Linked DNA regions of Homo sapiens: region 2 is linked to region 1. Evidence: promoter capture Hi-C in 16 types of primary human blood cells and fetal thymus (Javierre and others, 2016). All regions are on one chromosome and are shown on one strand. The core of a region is centred on a gene start or on the middle of the fragment in contact, and the rest is flanking DNA. Distances in the headings are between cores, read along the strand shown. Region 1 holds the start of KCNE3 (potassium voltage-gated channel subfamily E regulatory subunit 3). Region 2 overlaps C2CD3 (C2 domain containing 3 centriole elongation regulator).

Region 1 (7,624 bases), core at 3,047-5,546:
GCCTCAGGGTCTCTCTGAATAGACTAGGATGTTTGTGCTTCTGACAGGAGGAGGAAAGGGGCCATAGTTCCACATCTCTAGGTGCTGGGTTTGTATGGGAGGGAAGGCTGGGGTGCCAGGGCCTCCTGTCTGCGTTAGGAGAGGCAGAAAGCTGATGAAGGCACAAGTTGGTTCTCTATGGGGCTCTGGGGCTGCCTCTGGGGCTCAAGCTGGGGACTGGCAGTCAGCAACAGGGGAGTTTTGCCACTGTTTCTGAGCTCCTTGGCTTCCCTGTCCAGGAGAGTCCCTGATTACTGAGATCCTTGGATGGGGGAGATGGAGCTCCTGCCCTGGAGAGGTCTTGCCTTGAAATAGAAGATAGGCCAGTGAGGAAGGAAGGTGAGCAGATGGCCAAGCTGAGAGGGACTTTAAGGATCATCTAGAATCTAGATTCCAGGCCAACCCCTCCATTTCGTAGATGAGGAAACTGAGGCTCAGAAGGGAGAAGTGACTAGTCCAAAATGACATGGCCCATAAATGGCAGCACTCAGACAAGAACCCAGGTGTTTGGGCTACTGTTCAGGTGCTCTTTCCACTACAAATGGCAGTGTTTCCTCACACCTAAGCTTCACATCACACCAGACACAGCCTGTTAGTGTCATGGGGCATCATCTCCTCTAACTTCGTCACTATGGCCTTTTCATGCACCACAGATTCTCGCCAATCTTAGTCAATGATCCAGTGAGATGGAGGTTGGTAAGCTTGGGAGGAGGAGTTAGACTTCGTTTATGCTCTCATCTTCCATGCACCCCACTGCTCCAGACCTACTCCTGATTCCCCAGATGAGCCAGGTTCACTCTCTGTTCCTGCTATTTCCCATACATTCACAGGTTCTCACAAACTGCACTTGCCTTACACTTGTCCAACCCCTAACTTGGAAGTTGGGGAATAAAGCTGTGATCTGAGGGATGAACTGGGGATCTTAGTGGGGTTTTCATTCAGGTTGCTCTGGGGAAAAGTGAAACTCTACCCTTGGGTCTTTCTTTCCCGTCACTCCGTTTCAGCTACTCTTTCAGAATGAGCGTCTTCAGTGTCTGGAAATGAAGTACAGAGAGGTAGGTAGAAAAAGTCACATAAAGCAGGTAGGTGATCCAAAGACAGTTCCTGGGGTGCACAGTTTTACCACTGTCCCCTTGGTGGTCTTACCACTCCTGTGGATTGGAGAGCTGGTGGAGTGGGAGAGGAGTTGAAGGAGTAGCCCTTAGCATCCAGTTGGAAGGACAAAGGAATAGAATCTGAGCTGGAAGAGATCTTCATGATCATGTTGTTGGTGCAACCCCCTCATTCAACCAGTGGGAAAATAGACCCTCCTCCCCAAGGGAATCACCTGCTTAAGGTCTCACAGCTCAGTAGTGGCAGAGTTGGAGCCAGAAACCAAGTATCTTGACTTCCCCTCCACAGACCTTTCCACTATAAGTTCCCTTCTGCCAGTAGGGCAGACTCTAAACTCTTCTGATTACCACTGAAGCTCCTTGAAATGTGACTCTGACACTGGCCTCATCTCCCCACAGCTCTTTTCAGTGGCCTGCACCCATGACACTGAAGTACAGGCCACTCTCCAAATATTCCTTGCACTTGCACATCTCTTGCCTTTGCTCATGCTGTTTTCTTAAACAAGAATGCCCTTCCTCTTTTTACCTGCCTGGCAAACTCCTACTCATCCTTCAAGACCCAACTCCAATTCATCTCTGCAGACCTTCTCCTGGGACTCCTCCTTCCTCACTCCCTAGCCAGTTAGTCTCTCCCTCTTGTTTTTTCCCAAAAGTGCTTTGCACGAAGGCTTATTAGAGCACTATACTGTACTGAAACTCTGTGTGTGTGTGTGTGTGTGTGTATGTGTGTGTGTGTATGTGTATGTGTGTAACTGTGCGCTTTAAGGTAAGAGGGCAGGGTCCTGTGCCTCATACATTTCTTTATTTCCCAGCCCTGATACCTAGCAGGCATTCAAGAATAAATGAATCAATGCCTCTTCTCTAAGAGCATTCCCCCGCTCTGGCACACGCACATACATTCATGAAAACAGTTTACAATATTTAAAAAGCAACCTCCAGGGCAGGGCAAAACAGATTTCATTTGGTCTGGGGAAGGGATGGCTCAAAGAAAAGAAGCCATCTCAGTCAGGTGGGGTGAGTCAGAGGAGGAAGAATTCTAAGCCTTCTTTGGAAGCCCAGATGCTCCCTGCACCTGGACCCCATTCAATCCAAAGGGCAAACATTCTTGGCCTCAAAACACCAGCAATGGCTTTGCAACCCTCTTCCCTGTGTACCTACCCAGGGTGTGGCCACATACACCCACCCACTGCACACACACACACAGTCCAACTCCCCAGTCCCTCAGCCTGTGATCTTGCCGTTCAAGTGTTCCTTTCATGATTCTAATCTTGGCTGTATGCTTGGCTCTGTGTCCTTGAGCACTGCATTTACTTCCTCTGAACCTCATCTATAAGATGGGGATAATGATCCCTGCCCTGCCTACCACACATGAGAACTAGAGGAGACAAGAGATGGGAATGTTTTAGAAATTGCAAACATACAAGATAATTATCAGGCAGGCTGGTCACACTGTTTTCCTTTTCTGTCTCCACATCTTTCCTTTCCCCCCATATTACCAAGAACAACCATCTCTGTGTCTCCTTTCCCACTCCAGGTCTCCTAGCCTCAGAAGCAGCCAGGAGGTTCTTATTATTCTTCTTGATTCCCAGGAACCTCACCTTCTCCAGAAGCCTTCCTGTTTCCTACCCTCTATGATCATTCCCGCAGTCCCTTATCATTGAGGGGTACCATTCTGTAGTCCTGTAGCTGGTGGAGAACACATCAGAGGGGGAATCAGGAGACCTGGGTTCCTGCCCCTACTAGGCCAACACGTCTAGCCGTGCGTTTTGGTTAAGTAACTTTATCACTCTAAGTCTATATCCCTCTAGGCCTCATTTTCCTCATCAGTAAGATGGAGTTTCTTGTCTTGCTTCCCTCTTAGAAGGTATTTTGAGCACTCGCACATTAAGTTTATGGATGTGCTTTGAGACGTATAGACTGAGTGAGGGATGGAGAAGGTGATGGTTATCATCTCAAGGAGTCAAGAAAATCTGAAAGCAGCTTCTAGGCCCCCAGCATGGGTCTTCCTCCATCAGGAACAGACAAAGTGGACGGATGCAAGGAAATAAGGAGGAGCTCACACGTTTACAACATGCCTTTGTAGGTGAAGTGGAGAGAGCCCTGGGCTAGGACTGAGGAAACTTGGGTTCTAATTCTGTTTGGTCTCTGTTGTAACCTTAGGTAAATCATCTCCCCTGGGGCATCAGTTTCCCTATATGCAAATTAGTGGAGAGGATTTTAGGAGGGATACTCTGGTGGGCTTTCACGCAAGAACTAAACTCATTTATTTTCGAGATAAGAGACTCTGAGGTCCAATCCCCCTTTCCCCTTCTGTCCCATGGGGTATGCAGGCAACAGGAGCAGGAGGCCCGTTTTACAAATGGTGGCCCAGGAAAAGCGAGCACAAGGCGCAGAGCTGAGGGATGACTGCCCGGGTTTACACAGCCTGTAAACTAGAACTCAAGTCTCCCGACTCCCAGCCTCGACCTATGTTACTGGCAGCAGAAGATGCTTTTGGGAGTCACCAGGTTTCCCGGGACTAGGTCAGACAGGGTGAAGGACACAGTGAGGTGTAGAGGGAATGGGCAAGTCAGCTCCGCAGAGCCGGTGGCTCCAGCCAAATGAGACTGTGCTGGGTCCTGAAATGTCGTTTCTGCGTGTGCACTGGCTGCCAGCTGCAAGTGTTCGCTTGCACGTCTGTGGGTGTGGAGGAACTTTTCTTGTGGCCGTCTTGAGGGCTGGGAATAACGGCGCAAGTCCCCACGGTTTCCAGACGGGGCGCGCAGAGCCCAGCTCCCTACTCCCACATGCTGCTCCACGATCACTGCGCTCGGGAGGATCGGGGAGGATCCGGGAGGACTAGCTTGGTATTTGCAGCGCCCACCCCTCCCCCACTCCCCCTCGGTTCCACAGTCTCACGGAGAGCGCGCCGTGGCCCTTGGAAGGGAGGCGGGAAGACCCCTCATTTCCACCCCAGGCCGCAGCTCAGCCTTCCCAGCTGGGTGGGTGCCTTACCTGCCTCTCAGCAAGGCTCCGGGGCGCCCGTTTGCTCGCTGGACACGGCGCCCTCTGACCGAGGGTGGCCCAAGCGCTGCGACCCTGTGCATTCCACCAGCCCCGTTCCACTCCGCGGGTGCCCAGCACCGCCCAGCGCGCTCTCTGGCTCTGGGCTCCCACCCGCGCTCGGCTCCCTTTTCCCTCCCCCGGGCGTCCCCTCCCCCTGCCCCGCCCGGGCCCCAGCACACCCACTTCTCCCCGGGCTGGCCTGGAGTGCCTCCGCCCAGCTCCTTGGCCTCCCCCGGCTGTGGGCTCCGACCCTTCCGTCCCCTGCAGCGCCTGCTTCCTGGACCAGAGACCGAAAGCCTCTCGCTCCGCTGGGCCTCAGCAAGCCCAGCATGAGGCCGATCTCCAGGAGTCGGTTTTGCTCCAGTGTGGCTGTGTGGTGGTGGGCGAGTCGCTGCCCCTCACTGGGCCTTGGCCTGGCTGTAAAGTTGGTACAGTTCCTCCATGCATTCTTCACAGGCTTATGGTTGAGGTCAGATGAGACCTTTGAGTCCAAAGTATTAAAACCAAAGGGTCAACAGCAAAATAATATGATTCTTACACAAACTCTTTTCCACACAGGACGCAGAGGCCCAGTTGGAGAAGGGATTTGCCCAGGTAGCAGAGCCCAGACCCAAAATCCACTACACACCCCTCTGTCTCTGAGTAGCACCAGCAAATGTTTCCTCCACCAAGCCTCAAAAGTTCGTGACAGTGCCTGACCAACTTGTGTTCAGCCGCACCTTACTCATCTCTGTCCCAGAACAGTTTATTTTCCCACCACCATGCCCTCACTCAAACTGTTGTTTCCTTGCTGGTGACATTGCAGGCTTCAGAGAACTGGGGCAGCCGGGGCAGCTGAGGAATAAGAGCCAGGAGGCTAGTGGCAGAGGAAGGGACAGTTGCAGAGAATTTCTCCGGGGGACCCTGTGGGGTGCCCTTTTACCAGCTCACTGCCTCAGAATAATTAATAACAGCCTCAGGCCAGCTCTTTCACTCCCTTGCAAAGGTCTGCTCCAGGATATCTGAAGCACATACTCTCAATTACAGAATCCCAGAATATATCTAAGAAGTGCTATCGTTTTAAAAAGACCTACTACAAGGTGGGTATATTGTATATTGTATACAATATACAAGGTGGGTATATTGTACCCACCTTGTTTTGACCCTACTATTCCTTTTTCTCAGTCTGGAGATCACCTCTCAGAAAAGTCATCCTAATCACCTAAGCATGCAATCTCAGTTTCCTTCCTTCCTTCCTTTCTTTCTTCCTTCCTTCCTTCCTTCCTTCCTTCCTTCCTTCCTTTAGACAGGATCTCACTGTGTCACCCAGGCTGGAGTGCAGTGGAGTGATTATGGCTCACAGCAGCCTTGAACTCCTGGGCTCAGGTGATCCTCCTCCCTTAACCTCCTGAGTAACTGGGACACACCACTATGTCTGGCTAATTTTTGTATTTTATAGAAATTGGGTTACTCCATGTTGCCCAGGCTGATCTCGAACTCCTGGGCTCAAGTGACCTGCACACCTCCACCTCCCAAAGTTCTGGGATTACAGGCATGAACCACTGTGCCCATCCTGCAACCTCAGTTTTCAATCTGCCTAAGAATCCCCTGGGGAGCTTGTTTTACTAAGTAGACTTTTGGGCTCCACTCCAGAGGTTCTAATTCAGGAAATCTGGAGTAGAGCCTAGAAATCAGCATTTTCAAACAAGATTTCCAAATGACTCTGATGCAAATGGTTCTTGAGACTAGCCATGAGGAAGCAGTCCTGGCTTGGTCAGGGTTCTTTCTCAGATCCTGCCCACGGCCTTGCATTTACTCTGTAGGACTGTCTATGACAGTTATAGAAAGTAACCATTTGTCCACCCCATCTGCTAGGTTGTGAGTTCTTTGAAGATAGGGATTGTCTTTTGTTCTAATAAAATCTTAGAACCAAAGTCTTAGAATCATATCATCTTAGGGTTCTGGAATGTAAATTGGAAGAACTCTCAAGAGTTTCCTAGTCAAATCCCTCATGAGCCTAACAGATTCTCCCATTTCTTTATTTTTGGAAACATATCACCCAGGCTGGAGTGCAGTGGTGTGATCTCAGCTTACTGCAAACTCTGCCTCCCAGGTTCAAACAATTCTTGTGCCTCAGCCTCCTGAGTAGCTGGAATTACAGGTGTACCACCACACCCAGCTAATTTTTGTATTTTTAGTAGAGACGGGGTTTTGCCATGTTAGCCAGGCTGGTCTCGAACACTTGACCTCAAGTAATCTGCCCGCCTTGGCCTCCCGAAGTGTTGGGATTACAGGTGTGAGCCACCACACTCTGCCTCTATTTCATTTTTGAAATGAGGCTATCCAGCTTCTCTTGCACACCTCTAGGGAGCTCAATGCCTGCAAGGCAGCCAGACAGCTCTGATTGTTAGGATGTTCTCACATTTTAACAAAAACTGCTTCCTGTTGACTTCTACCCTTTGGTCCTTGCACCCATTGGAGACATGAAATAGAAGTCTGATCTGTGTTCCCTTTTACAGTCTTTCAAGAATTTAAGGTCGGCCAGGAGCAGTGGCTCATGCCTGTAATCCCAACACTTTGGGAGGCTGAGGTGGGTGGATCACTTGAGCTCAGGAGTTCAAGACCAACCTGGATAACATAGTGGGACTTCATTTCTACAAAAAATAAAAAAATTAGTTGGGCATGATGCTATGTGCCTGTAGTACCAGCTACTTGAGAGGCTGAGGTGGGAGGATTGCTTGAGCCCAGGAGGTTGAGGCTGCAGTGAGCCAAGATTGTGCCACTGCACTCACTACAGCCTAGACAACAAAGTGAGACCCTATCTCAAGAAAAAAAAAATTTGCTGGGCGTGGTGACTCACGTCTGTAATCCCAGCACTTTGGGAGGTGGCGGATCACGACGTCAGGAGTTCAAGACCAGCTTGCTCAATATGGTGAAACTCCGTCTCTACTAAAGATTAAAAAAAAAAAATTAGCTGGGTGTGGTGGCATGCACCTGTAATCCCAGCTACTTGGGAAGCTGAGGCAGAAGAATCGCCTGAACCTGGGAGGCAGAGGTTGCAGTGAGCTGAGATTGCGCCACTGCACTCCAGCCTGGGTGACAGAGCAAGACTCTGTCTCAAAGAAAAAAAAAAAAAGAATTTAAGGTCTATCCTCTACTCCCCCTTCTCTGGGGTGAGGATAAGGCAGCAACCATGTCAGGGAAGGCAGCTGGCCATTGGAAAGGGGGCTGAGCTGCCTCATGTTCCCCACCTGTGCCCTGGAGCCTTGCCAGCAGGCTTAGATGAAGTGATGCGTTTAATATGCCTGGAGCCGGGCCTAGCATGAGGCATAGGCTTAATAAATGGCAGCTTCTATTGTCACTGGATGAGAAAGAGCAGGAGGAAACAGAGTTCCTGTCTCTGGGGATCTCTAGTCTGACAGGGACTTCAAGGAGCTCCCTAATCCAAA
Region 2 (7,624 bases), core at 1,391-3,890, 450 kb before region 1:
GAAGGGAGGGAAGGAAAGGGAGTTAACTGGGTAGGGCAGAGGAGGAGTAGGCAGAAGTCTTTTCTGGACTGGGGCACAGAGCCAGCGTCACAGGGCAGGTGGTCAGAAGCATGGATGTTCAAGTGCAAAGCTTGGGCTGTACCTGTCCTCTTCCTTGGACCAGGCCCTGACCTTAATGTCAGCAGAATAAGCAGCTGCATTAGTGTTAAGAGGGAAGTGGCTGTCAGGGCTGCTGAGATTAGGAAGGCTCAGGAAGTAGGTTCTGAGCTCCATCTGTAATTGCTAGTCTAGAGGTGATGCAGTAAATTGCAGGGAGTCTGTGGGGGAAGAATAGAGTAGAAGCCCAAACCAGGAGGCAGCAGGCTCTGGAGAAACCTAGTGGGAGGGAGGGCCAGGCTCTCTTTAGCTTGGGAGCTTGAGGGCAGGGCCAGGTCTGCCTGCTTTGGCTCCATGTCCTGAGGCCAGCCCATGCTAGAAGTCCGAAGGCTGCCTGCTCTGGGTTGGGATGCAACCAGCCTAGGGATCAGAAACACCTATTCACAGGTCTCTGTGGAGGGAGGGCTCAAAGGGAAGAGAGGCAGCCACTGGCTCGTTCTGGTGGTGGGAACACCTATCTCATGCCTTAATCCATGCCACACGCCTGGTCAAGTCATTTATCTCGGAGTTGGCACTGGGAGATAGATTCAACTTCCGGGGATAAGATATTGATAAATAACACACTGTTTTGAAGTGGAGGTGGGAGGTCTCCACCCTCAGGGTCCTTTTGTGTTATCAGAGGCTGCTCTCAGCCTGGGGTAGGAGTGTGTCCTCCTGACCCCGATCAGGTTGTCTGCGGGAGCTGGAGTGGGATTTGGAGGAATATTCTTTACCTGGGGCTTTCCCCCTCAGGCCTGGGCCCTGACTGCCCCTCTTTAGGTCCCCTGGGCCCCAAGGGAAGTGGGGCCCTGGGCCTTGAATGCTCTGTGCTGGTGACTTGAGAGGGAGGCTGGCCTCTGTGGTGCTGGGGAGGGGTGGGCTGGCAGGCGTCGGAGCAGAGATAAATAGAAGCGGGAGGGCTTGTCACCAAGAAGGCAGCACCCACTCCTTCCTTGAGGTTCCCGCATCATTTTGCACCCTCTGAGGCCCAGGAGTGCTCTGCCTGCCCCAGTGGCTGCATGCTTGCCTCTCTACTGGTTTGCTCCCGAAAGTCAGGAGAGTGGGTGGGGCTGACATTTCCTAAGCTTCCACCATGTGCCAAAAGTAGGCGAAGCACTTTCACAAATGTCATCTCATTTGATCTTCCTCACAACCCCATGAAGCTGGGGTGATTATCTCTGTTTTACAGACGAGGCCACAGAGGCTCAGACGCAGTGAGACTGGTCTCTATCTCCAGCTGCACACTGCTCACAGGCTTTCCTGGCTCTCTCTCTATAGCTGTCCACAGCCTGGGCCAATTCTCTGTGCTCACCCCAAGACCTGTCTCTTCTAGGAAGCCTTCCCTGACTGCCCCAGCCCACATGGTCTTTCTCCATGAAGTCCCTAAATTCAGAGCACTTATTGGCTGTACCTTGTTTTGATTACTGAAAGCAGTAGCCTTGCAATACCTCTGGGATTTCTTGTGTGGTTAATCACTTCCTAACTACACAAACAGAGGCAAAACACTGAACTTACAGAAACTCTAGATATCATAATATCTAGAGTTAGAGAGCTGTTTTGAGGACTGAGTGAAGTGACATGTACTTGGGGGTGAAAGCCTGTTGCCCAGCCACACTGCTCACTCTGCACATTTGGCTCCCGCGACCCCATTTTTTTTTTTTTTTTTTGTGATACGGAGTCTTGCTCTGTTGTCCAGGCTGGAGTGCAGTGGCGTGGTCTCGGTTCACTGCAACCTCCACCTCTTGGGTTCAAGTGATTCTCCTGCCTCAGCCTCCTGAGTAGCTAGGACTACAGGCGTGCACCACGCCCAGCTAATTTTTGTATTTTTTTTTTTTTTAGTAGAGACGGGGTTTTGCCAGGTTGGCCAGGGTAGTCTCAAACTCCTGACCTCAGGTGATCTGCCTGCCTCGGCTTCCCAAAGTGTTTGGATTACAGGTGTGAGCCACTGCACCCATCCATGGCCCTTTTCTTGTCCTCCCCACGGGGCTTTGTCTGATGGATTTCAAGCATCAGCAAAGGAAATACTGGGTGTCACTGTCATCTGGACCAACCTGATTCTGGAGGAGCCAGAAGTCTCATGGTGATTGATCTTCGTCTGCGTGGGGTGTATGGTTGTTAATCTTTCTCTCTGGCAGTTAGGGCACACACGAATTCCTAGCATCCCCACTCCAGCGAAACACTTGTGCACAGATTACAAACACCAATATGATTTTATTCAAACACAGGCAAGAACAATGACCTTCAGAGCTGGGTAAAAATAATAAGTTAAAAGCATGGTTAGAATTTTAGACAATCAGATAAAAAGTTTGAAGGAAGTGATTTCCCCTTCCTCTCCTAATTGATTAATTCAACACAGCATAAAAATAATTTGTATCTATAAAATATCCTTGTTCCCACACAAATGAACTGGAGGTGGCCCTAGGATTTCCTTGACTATGCACAATGCACACAATCTACATGTCCCTCCTCCCCAACTTTTAAGGCAAAAATGGTCCTGCATCTTCAGGCAGAGGGTGGGCTCATGCCAGCAGTCAGCTGTGTCAAGGACACTGGGGGGCGTTTCTCCACCGAAAGATGCCTGCTTGGGTCCCACTTGGGCGCGGATTCCATTTTATTTCTAGCCTTTGCCTCACCACAGAAAAAAGGAGCTGAAATTCTGGCAAGTGGACACTGGACTGGTTTGGGGCACTCCTCCAGTCTGGGCTGACCGGGTCTCTTGAGGCATCCGTGGCCTAGGCAAGTGGTGGTTTCAGGACTGTGACAGCCCTGAAGGAGCCAGACCTGGTGCCTCCTGCAAGCTGGACAAAGCTGACGGAGGGTGGGCAGGTGTCTCCTTCCCCCCAGCCCCTCAGGCTGCGTCAGTCTTTCTGGGAGTACTGAGAAGAAAATATCCGTGCAATCCTGAGAGTTTCTTCCTCAGGCAGGTTGAGGGGGAGCGAGTTAGGTCTGGGGCGACAAGGCCTTTGGGAGAGAGCTCCCCTGGTGGCTTCGCTCTTGTCCTGGAGAGGAAGAAGTCAGCTAGGTTACCACTGAGGATATGGCACCACCAATGGATGACGCTGGTTTCTCTCATCTTTTGGTCCTTTGGTTAATATTTATGTAGAGCTGCCTGGTTTACAAAGCGCTTTACGTACCTTATCTTGCTTGACCCTTACCTCAACCCCATATGGGGGGTATATCATTCTCCCCATGTCGTGGATAAGGAAACTACATTCAGGTGGAATAAACTCAAGGTCCCACAGCTCTGAGTAGCAGAGCTGGGACGTGAACCCCAGCCCTGACTCTTTCTGTGCCTCTGGAGAAGGAGGCAGCGTCACCTCCAGGATAGGTTTGAATCCTCATCCCTTCTCCTGTTGCATGGCTTTAGACAAGTCATTTGTCCTCTGGGTTTAGTCCCATGTGTGATGCTGGGAACATATCCAACTCTCAGGGAGATGGCGGTGAATAATACACTCTCTGTTTGGCCCTTTGGAGCTCCTGGAGTTGCCAGGTGACATAAAGCACCTACCTACTGCTTGGCTACCAAACTTTGATCTCTCTGACTCTGGCTGACAGGGCATCACTAATTCCGCCTTTAAGGTACTTAAACCTGTGGGCTATGGTATCATGGTCCTCTGGACTCCTCTAACTCATTTTTCTTTCTTTTTTCTTACTCCATGTCAGGCTCCTGTGCTGAAGGAGCTCAAAGCTATACAGGAAAGCCATCCCAGACAGCTGGCTGAGAGCAAGGCCCTGGGGAAGAAGTGGGGGCCTGATAGGGGAGGGGGCAGTTCTGAAAGGAGATGGGAGCAGCCTCCACAGGCAAACCTGGCTGACTTCATGGCATGCAGCTTGCTCTTCCCTGTCATCAAGTCCCATGAGCTGAGGCTGTCATAAGCTGAAGGACTATTGAGAGCACACTGTACCACTTCCTGGGCACTGAGAAGAAGCTTGGTGGAGACCCTAGAGACTGGGACCACCTACCCCCTGCAGTTCTGCTCATGAGAAACTGAGGCCCAGCGAGAGTTGCGCCCAGCGAGAGTTGCGCCCAGCGAGAGTTGCTTCTGGCATCAGTAACATTCAGTTATTCTTTCTTTCATGTCTTCAATCTTTTTTAATACCTACTTGAGAGGGGCGCAGAAATAAACAGAACTCCGTTTTAGGCTTTCTCAGCTCAGAGTTAAGCCCTGGAGGCAGAGAGATCTGCCTAAAGAATTAGAATTGCCAGAATGAGATAAGGGGAGTGGAGTCAGGCATCCCTGATCTACTGCCTGGATGTCAGTTTCCCACCCATGAAATAGAAGTGTGGATGGGAAACCTTGAGGGTCCCTGCCAGTCTAGAATTCTAAGTGCCAAGGGAATGTCTACAATCTGGGAAGCTCTCAGTGCTATGAGCCCACAGGCAGCCTTTCCTTATAACCAAGAGCAAAGTGATACTAGGGCTGGGCTGCACAGCAGAGACTAGAAGATCTATCTCCCTGCCTTCTAGGCAGGTCTAGGCTAGAAGGGAAGAAGGAAACCCACTTTTTGCTGGTGTTTGCAGTTCTTCCTTCCAAAATACAGGAAGCACCTGCACTGCATGATGCCTCAGACCAGGGGAGGCCAGTGGCCAGCCTCTGCCTGTTGCTCTCCCACTTCCACACTGGGTGCTCCTGCAGGGCACGGCCTGGGTCTGAGGCTTGGGATCCCAGCGAGGCCAGTTCCAAGACAGGAGCCTGGGAGCTGCTAGACCAGTGTGGGTGGGACCAGGCCAGGGTAACCACAGGTTTAAATTGGGTGGGGAGGAGACTCTTTGTAGTAAGCTTCTCATTCATTCATTCTAGAACCAGTGGTTGTTGTCCTACCATATGCCAGGTCTTTAGTTAAGTTAAACTCTCTCAGGCTCTATGTAGCACTTTAAGCTTGTGTATATCTTTCTCTACTCCCAAGATCCAAGATGGCTGTTTCCTGAGCTATTTGGGATTTAGGATGACACAAGTCCCATTCCTGACCCCCAGCTGTACTGCAGGTAGATTTTCTGGGTCATCAGTTGTATCTTACCTTCCATTTCTTTCTCTGCTACTCTGAAGGGGAAGTAGGGAGATGTTTGTTTTATGAGCCAGATGGGAAAACAGGCCTTAGAGCATAGTATTCTATCTCAAATCCTAAAACCAGGCATTTGTTTCCCCATTTTCTAGAAGAGATGTCTTCTCTGTTTTAGAGAGACTTAGATGAGTCTTGTTCTCCATGGCTGGAAGGGCCAACTACCTCAGTTCATGAAATGACCATAAAAAGACCTCTGTTGGGCTGGGTAGCTCACGTCTGTAACCCCAGCACTTTGGGAGGCCAAGGCAGGGGGATCGCATGAGTCTAGGAGTTTGTGACCAGCTTGGTCAACATAGGGAAACCCTGTCTCAAAAAAAAAAAAAAAGGAAAAAAAAAATTAGCAGGGTGTAGTGGTGCACACCTGTGGTCCCAGCTACTCAGGAGGCTGTGGTGGGAGGATCGCTTGAGCCCAAGAATTCAAGGCTGCAGTAAGCCATGATCATGCTACTGCACTCCAACCTGGGTGACAGAGGAAGACCCTGTCTCAAAACAAAACACCTCTGTTGGTGACTCATCAAACTTTTCAGGAGCCTAAGATCTAATCAACTTGATCAACTCTTATGGACAACAGGCAGACGTGGTTCCTGTTGTCATAGGGCTGCTCAGCTAGAGAGAAGACAGACAATGAGCTACCCAACAATCACAGAGATGAAGCTTAGAGCTTGTGAGCACTGAGAAAATAGCAATTAGTAACAGCTGAGAAAGTCTGGGGCGGCTTCACAGGAGGTGGGCTCCAAGATGGGCAAGGTCTCAACAGAAGCTGGCTGTCAGGTGAGGTCTTTCATTAGAGGGAACAGCATGAGCACAGACCTACACCTACTGGCTGGGCCATATCTGCCCTGGAGCTGAATCGTGTGTGGCACCAACCTTCCAGCACTGATACCCTAACCCAATGACCTAGGGGGCCTTATCTGCAAGGCCCAGGCCCAGGAATCAGAACAAGGACAAGGACAGGGCTTGGCTCTGTGTACAGGGCAGGGGCGGGGTGTGGAAGGACAGAGAACTCACACTCAGCAGCATTTTGCTTTTGTTGACCTCAATAGGGTTTAGAAACCATCTTGACTAGTAGTGAAGATTCTTCCTTCATCAGGACTGCTACCCTAACACACAACCCTGGTGGGGTTGGCCAGAGGCGAAATTGGCCAGAGCAGGGATACCCTCAAATGTATCATCCATTCCTCTGAAATACTCCTACACTTCTGGCTGTAGACCTGAGGGCACAAGAAAGTTGTCAGCAGAACATGGGCTTTGTGGGAGGCATCAACCTTCCTGGGGAGGCAGGAGGAACACACATGGAAGCAGGATCGTCGTAGCTGGAGGGGCTGCAGGTGCCTTGGAGTCTAGACAGCGGGTGTCATCCATGGGGTGAAGTCCCTGGAGCGGGAACTTAAACATGAAGGTGGAATGTGAACAGACAATGAAGAGAGAGGGTATGCCACGTGGAGGTGCAGGTTTTGTGAGGAAGGAATTTTCTTTGCTAGGAAAGTGGTGGGGGTGGATAGGCTGAGCTGCAGGTATGGAGAACAGCCAAGACAAACCTATTACTAGAAGAGGGGTTGATGCTGGTTGAGGAAGTTCCAGAATGTCTGGGGGGAATTTGATCTTATTCTTCTTGGACTTCAGCGAGCTGATCTGTAAGGGCCTTCCCAGGGAACAGGGATGGGGTATTTGACGACTGTACTAGGCTGAAGGACAGAACTGGCTTTCCTGTGGACCGGGTGTCAAGCACGGCAGTAGGCCAGGGGCTTTCAGGCTGCCCCATTAAATCCTACCTCATCCATACATGGGACCTGTTCCTTTCTGAGTACCTGGACACCCAGGTCATGAACATGATAGGCCTCTCTGATAATAGATGTGTCTTAAAAGAGCCTTCAATGCTAAAGATCAGACTTTGCTGGGGAGAAAATGGAGCACGTGGAAGGTGTAAGGAGTGGTTTGGAAAGAAAATGTGGGGCTTCCTGAGGCTCTTCAAATTGAGTGGCTAACCCTGCATAAGGAGCTGGTTCTAGTCCTGGCTCTACCACTTCTTAGCCAAGCGGTGTTGGGCAACCCACCTTCTCTTTGGGCCTTGGTTTGTGCATCTGAATGGGATCAGGATGAGCAGATAATGCAAGAGGAGGCACTCTATAAACCACGGGCTTATCCCGGCCCTTGGCTCCTTCTCTGGTCTGCTCCCTGTGATGCAGACTCTTCTCCAAAAGCTCTCTCAGGAGGGCCTGGCCCTCTTCTTTGGCCTGGAACATGATCTGATCCCAGCCACTGTGTTCTAGGTTCTCTTCACTCCAGCCCCCAGATGGATTCCTCGAACAGGCCACATGCTCCCAGGGGTTGGTGGGTACAGGTGCCCCCACTTACCCCTGCTTCCAAGTATCTGAGGGACTTTCTCAGAGGACAGGCAATGGAGTGCAGTGGAAGGGACACTGGT

What was found. The method cuts DNA at HindIII sites, captures the fragments that hold promoters and counts their contacts. A CHiCAGO score of 5 or more calls a contact.
Region 2: a fragment that was not itself captured here is called in contact with the fragment with the promoter of KCNE3 in region 1 in 1 of 17 cell types (megakaryocytes); the score reaches 5.3 in megakaryocytes.

What each region holds. Positions count from the first base shown.
Region 1 is chr11:74,463,253-74,470,876 of GRCh38, forward strand. It overlaps KCNE3 (potassium voltage-gated channel subfamily E regulatory subunit 3), which reads right to left and starts at 4,297. Exons shown (of 3, transcript NM_005472.5): 1 at 4,146-4,297. The HindIII fragment of the contact is 7,698 bases long and covers 739-7,624 here.
Region 2 is chr11:74,010,392-74,018,015 of GRCh38, forward strand. C2CD3 (C2 domain containing 3 centriole elongation regulator) reads right to left here. Exons shown (of 33, transcript NM_001286577.2): 33 at 2,327-3,134. The coding sequence ends at 2,994. Among named protein-coding and RNA genes, the nearest start is that of UCP3, 5.1 kb to the left of the region's middle. RefSeq lists an enhancer at 1,515-1,664. The HindIII fragment of the contact is 2,844 bases long and covers 1,219-4,062 here.